Regions from separate parts of the Homo sapiens genome. Here region 2 is linked to region 1. The links are contacts of gene promoters, found by promoter capture Hi-C in human tissues and cell types (Jung and others, 2019). All regions are on one chromosome and are shown on one strand. Each heading gives the region's core, a stretch centred on a gene start or on the middle of the fragment in contact. The rest is flanking DNA. Distances are from core to core; before and after follow the strand shown. Region 1 holds the start of GAST (gastrin). Region 2 overlaps ACLY (ATP citrate lyase).

Region 1 (3,072 bases), core at 165-2,664:
CCCATTAATTCTCAGCAAGGCTGGCTGTAAGCATGGGTACCACTGCAGTTACCCAATACCCAAGGGGATCAAACTCTCCCAGAAAAGGTGGGGGCCCAATGACGCATGAACAGGAGCAAAATCTCTGCTCTCAACAGTGGAAAAGTAAAAAACAGCCTACGGCTCATTACATCTGGTCAAACCATGTGGAGGCAGCAGTTTATCAAATAAGTCAACAAGGTACCATTTTGTTTTCTGGTCCATCTTTGGCAAATGCTTTAGTCTGTTTGCTAACCATTTGAAGGTATATTTTGATACTGAAAAGTTGTTGGCTGGGCATGGTGGCTCACGTCTGTAATCCCAGAACTTTGGCAGACTAAGCTGGGCCGATCATGAGGTCAGGAGTTCGAGACCAGCCCGCCCAACACGATGAAACCCCATCTCTACTAAAAATACAAAAAATTAGCCAGGCGTGGGGGCGTGCGCCTGTAATCCCAGCTACTAGGGAGGTTGAGGCAGAAGAATCGCTTGAACCCAGGAGGCGGAGGTTCCAGTGAGCCGAGATCACACCACTGCACTCCTGCACTCCAGCCTGGTGACAGAACTAGACTTTGTCTCAAAAAAAAAAAAAAGTTGTTATGCAGATTACTAGCTCCCCTTGAAAGCAAAATGAAGGAGGCTTCAAAGGCAGGACCCTCCAGGAATTGGTTCTGCATAGGGGGTTTGCAAGTGGTGGTGCATGGGCAGCTGACCTAGAAGACACGGGGCAGCTACAAGCCAAACCCAGCCCAGCACAGAGGGCCTAAGGAGAAGAAGGCACCAAGGGTGTTCCATGGTAGGGGGAGGGTGAAAGGACTTCAGAGGTGACCAGGATGTGAGCCACTAGAAGGAGAGAACAGGGCCATCAGCCCACAACCCATTGCTCCTGGTAACACGTTATGTTTGCAGAGTCCAGTGGAGGGGACGGGGAATCAATACATCACCCCACATTCACACGCTTGCCAAACATCAGTGGATGGCGAAATCCACTTTCCCTGAATCTAAGCCCATCGGGTTCACTCCCTCACCTACCACCACCCACAAAGGTCCCTATGTAGTTCGAGAGATAAGTGCCAGGCCTCTGACCCCCAGGATATGGTGGGAAGCATTGCTCCTGACCCAGGGAGCTTGGTTCCTGCCCCTCAGGTACAGCTGGAGAGCTGCCGCCACCCCGCTCCAGCCCCTCACCATGAAGGTCAACTCCCCTATCCTTCCCCCACATCCTGGATGACTGACTGACACTAAATGAAAGGGCGGGGCAGGGTGATGGGCTGTACCTGTGCCCCACCCCATTCCTCTCGCCTGGACTCATATGGCAGGGTAGGGGCGGGGTGGGGGGACAGTTGGGAGGGACCTTGAGGGCTTTATAAGGCAGGCCTGGAGCATCAAGCAGAGCAGAGACCTGAGAGGCACCAGGCCCAGCCGTGGCACCACACACCTCCCAGCTCTGCAGGTGAGAAAACCCAGGAGGAGAGGGGAGAGGCTAGGAAGTGGGTTGACAGGTCCTCTCCCCCATCAAGGTACCAGGCCACTGGCCAGAGTCTGGGGCTCACCCCTTGGGGTCTCCAGAGCTGGGACCCTTTCTTTATCCCAGGATGGAACTAGGTCTTGGCTCCAGTACCTACCCTGGTATTCCCAACCTTGCCTTCCACCTGCCCTTCTGCCGCAGCCGGGGCCCTGCCCTTAGCCTATCCCTTCACACTCTTCCCAGCCCTGGGAGGTGAGGAGGACTGGGGTTCTTCTCCTTTCTCTCAGACAAGAAAACTGAGGCCCAGAGGCAAGATGTGACTTGCCCAAAGTCACAGGGATTATTAGGCAAGGCTGGGATAGGAATCCACAGCTCCTGGATCCCACTTCAAGCCCTTTCCTAGACCAGTGCCATCCAAAAGAACGTCCTATGATGCAGGAAATGGTCTTCATCTGCACTGTTCAATATGGTAGCCACTAGCCACGTGTGCGCTTGAAATGGGGTTAGTGTAAGGAAGTTTTTGTTGTTGTTGTTGTTTGTTTTTTTATATAGAGTCTCGCCGTGTCACCCAGGCTGGAGTGCAGTGACATGCAACCTCTGCCTCCCAGGTTCAAGCAATTCTCCTGACTCAGCCTCCCGAGTAGCCGGGATTACAGGCGCCTGCCACAACACCCAGCTAATTTTTCATATTTTTGGTAGAGACAGAGTTTCACCATGTTGGCCAGGCTGGTCACAAACTCCTGACCTCAAGTGATCCAACCCCCTCAGCCTCCCAAAGTGCTGGGATTACAGGCGTGAGCCACTGCACCTGACCATAATTTTTTAATTTAATTAATTTAAATGTAAAGAGCCACATGTGGCTGGTGGCTATAGCACTGAACAACACATGTGGTTAGCATCTGACAATACAGCTCCAGATCACTGATTTTTCAAACATTTCTTCAGCAGCAGAATTCTTTTCTTCCAAAGAAAACCTAACAGAAAACCTGATTATGAAAAACTTAATGGCCAGGCACCGTGGCTCATGCCTGTGATCACAACACTTTGGGAGGCTGAAGCAAGCAGATTGCTTGAGCTCAGGAGTTCCAGACCAGCCTGGGCAACATAGTGAGACCTCATCTCTACTAAAAATAAAAACAAAAAAATTAGCTGGGCATAGTAGTGCACACTTGTAGTCCCAACTACTCAGGAGGCTGAGGTGGGAGGATCTCTTGAGCCCAAGAGGTCGAGGCTGCAGCGAGTCAGGATCACGCCAGCCACTGCATTCCAGCCTGGGAGACAGAGCAAGATTCTGTCTCACAAAAAGAAAAGAAAAAAAGAAAAACTTAAAAGCAGTACAGTATTTTATTAATACAAATGTATTCTGACAAGAGAAAATTTTTATCATTTTCTTATGATAAAGCCAATCAGAATAGTGAGACCAAAAGCATACAAAAATAGTGAGTCCAGGGAATAGATGAGCATTTGAATTTTATGTTTGTTTGAGATTCCAGTTTAGTTCTGTATTATGTTTTCCCCAAACTTGATTCACCCTGATACATAATTGCTAATGGTGACAGCTTAATTTTTTCTTAACTGCTTCATTA
Region 2 (3,072 bases), core at 258-2,757, 180 kb after region 1:
GGGCCACAGAGTGAGACCCTGTCTCAAAAAAAAAAAAAAAAAAAAAAAGGGTAAGGGAACAAAAGGAGCTGGTAGAAGTGCAGTTCTCTAGGTGGGCATAGTGGTGCGTGCTTGAGTCCTAGCTACTTAGGAGACTGAGATGGGAGGATCACTTGAGCCCAGGAATTCGAAACCAGCCACCGCGGCATAGTGAGACCCCACCTCAAAAAAAAAAACAACAAAGAAAAACCTTCCATGATGCGATTATTACGCATTGCACGCCTGTACCAAAATATCTCATGCACCCCTACTATGTACCCACAAAAATTTTAAAAAGAAAATTTTAATGCAGCAAGTATATTTAAAAAAAAAAAGAAAAAAGTGCAGTCCTTAGCCTAAAGGGAAAGGACTTTTACCACGCTTCAGGCAGTTGACTTTCCCCTCTGGGTCCCTGCAAGTCCAAGAGGAGGAAAGCAGCCCTCAGGGAGGTTCTGAGCTCCCCTAGGAAGAATGATGCATCTAGCCCAGTGGCATCTCGTATTAATTAACCTACTGTACTAGAGCAGGCTTGGCTAACCAAGTTCATGGTCTCATTAAATCCCTGTACAGGCCTGCCTCTTCCATCACAGCCTTACAGCTTCTCATGACAGAAGGTTCCTGATGTTGCAAATACCTGGGATTTACTGTCACCTAGACCCCCCGGGTTCTGCTGAGACATGAGATCACAGAACAAGGGGAGCCACCTAATCCAGTTCTCCCACTTCCCAGTCCTAGGAAACTGAAGCCCAGAGATGCCAAATGATTGAGGTCCGAGGTCATCCAGCATCAGAGCCAGGATTACACAATCACTTAAAATGCAGCTCAACTGTGAAAGTGAGGAGGGAGAATATAAGTGTGAGTTCATGACCCGCCATCCTCAGGGGAAGCCTGCATCATGTCACCCCCGCCAGGTGACGCACGTGCACATGCCTCTGATCTATCTACCCTGCCAGCTACAGAAATCAAGACAAAGCCTGGAATCTACCAACCTACCAGCATCTCCAGCAGGAAGGGTGGAGGTAAAGTGGCCCTTCCTCAAGCACAGAGAAACCAAAGCTGAAGGGTGTATCCTCAGCCCACCAGCAGCAGAGAGGCTCCAGAGAGAACCTCTGTGCCAGGGGCTATGCCCCCTACACCAGGCCTCCTCTGGCCTCGCTGAGGGGAGGGCTCGCTCAGCCATAATCTGTTCTCCCTGACACACCCTCCTTTTATTTCTCTCACTCCAGAAAGTAACAAGGATAACCCCCCTCCTCATAACCCTCCTCCCCTTCAGAGCACAGAGAGCTCCTGGAGAACCAGGGCTGGTCCCTGTTCTTTCCACACTGGGCTCACTCTGCTCTTAACTTTTTCCAGAGGCAAAAACATCAGGATTAAAGCCAGGTGGCCACAGTGCTGCATTCCAGGCCTTTCCAGCTGGTTATCGACCCTGCCAATTACTCCTTCCCCTCCCCTTAGCAAGGGGACAACAAAGACTTCCCCGCCTCCACGGCTGTGAATGTCAAAGTTAAATGGACGCTCTGATGCCATGAACCAATTAATCTACTCAGCTAGGCTGGTGGGTGAATGCGCATGCACAGAAGTATCCACTGTAAAATGTGACCTCATACACCAGACAAAGCTCATACCCCTTCCAATTACCCAGTCACTAGATCCGCTGCACACCCTTCTGCGCTTCCGTCTACCTCCTTCTTCACCTCTTTTGTTCCTCCACCACAACCCCAGAAAAAGATAAACTGGTCCCTGGAGCTTGAGGATGAAGCTGGCAGTGGTGAAGCCGAGGCAGGAAAGGTGGGAAAATGACATCAGGAGATGTAAATGAGAAGCAGGGGTGACTTGTGGCTCCCCTTCTGCACCCCAGCAGTGACAGACGCCCACGACTCTCTGCCACTCCCCATTTAGTTGGATGGCTCCCTCCTTCCCAGGCGACACTCTCTCCTTGACACCACTACACTCTCCAGGGCTGTGGGTCTGGCTCTTGCTCCTTCCAAAATCTCTACCCCTTCCCAAGCTTGGAGCCAGAAACAGCCACACAGTGAGGAGAGGACTGAGTGGGGCGCGTACTGAGCACGGATAGGAGGGGAGGAAGAGCGAAGACTTAGGACTTGGGGTCAGGCCACATCAAGGCAGGGACAGAAAATAGACCAGACGACACTGCAACCCACCAGGGGAGGGGGAAACAGAGCACACAGTAAAACTGTCACCCGCTAACAAAGCCACACGCGGAGTGGGGGCAGGGTGGGGGCATCCTACCTTGCAGGGATCTTGGACTTGGGACTGAATCTGTCAAAGAAAATGACCAAGGCAACTGAGTGACCCACTGATGGCTGGAGGCTTTGGAGGGAGAGGGTGGGAACAGGGAAGGGTCCCATGGACAAGCCTTTCAGGGCTAAAGCCCTCATCATCCCTCTCCTGTTCTGCAATGGACAACGGAGTAAGGCCAGCAGAAGAGGTGAAAGCACCGATGAGCAGAATGGAAGCAAGAAAGAGCAAAGACCAAACGGGCAGAGAGGGGGCAGGAGGAGGACAAAGGCTGGGCAGATGTGCTCAACACCAGCGCCTCCCCCAGGCCCTCTGCAGGGACAGCTGGATGACTTGAACTCTGGGCTCTCTAGCTGGCGCAGTCCCACCCTCTTAATGCCAATCCCTTTTTGTCTCCATGAAACACTATGAGATGATTGGCCAGCATGGGGTTGACCCGTGCCATGGACAAGGATGCTGATTTGGGACAGTGTCACTATTTTCCAAAATGCCATAGCAAAGTGTGTCCCAGGAAGAGGCTGCACAGGTATACCAGCCCAGGGGTAACTAACACCACTTATGTAGAGCTGGCTGCAAGGGCTGGCCGGCAGGAATCACATCTACACGGAGAGAAAAATTAGTTGAAATACAGATGGGCTGACAGGCGGGGGCTTTTCTTGCTGGGGATTCAAAGGAGGGAATGTCTGTTAGGGCCCCAAGATGGTGGGGGTGGCCTGGGAACTGCTGTTGTATGAGCTGGCTCTGCCGTCCTGGGGTCCCGGTGTCTGCCCTCCACTCAGGAGAAGAGTCTCAGAG

The links. The method cuts DNA at HindIII sites, captures the fragments that hold promoters and counts their contacts. A contact is called where the count stands out against the background at its distance.
Region 2: a fragment that was not itself captured here is called in contact with the fragment with the promoter of GAST in region 1 in 2 of the 25 tissues and cell types used here (dorsolateral prefrontal cortex and pancreas).

Annotation. Positions count from the first base shown.
Region 1 is chr17:41,710,917-41,713,988 of GRCh38, forward strand. GAST (gastrin) reads left to right here and starts at 1,415. Exons shown (of 3, transcript NM_000805.5): 1 at 1,415-1,471. The HindIII fragment of the contact is 8,154 bases long and covers 1-3,072 here.
Region 2 is chr17:41,894,352-41,897,423 of GRCh38, forward strand. It overlaps ACLY (ATP citrate lyase), which reads right to left. Exons shown (of 29, transcript NM_001096.3): 14 at 2,269-2,298. It overlaps LOC124904005 (a long non-coding RNA gene), which reads left to right. Exons shown (of 2, transcript XR_007065757.1): 1 at 1-1,037; 2 at 1,372-1,415. Among named protein-coding and RNA genes, the nearest start is that of ACLY, 23 kb to the right of the region's middle. The HindIII fragment of the contact is 6,856 bases long and covers 1-3,072 here.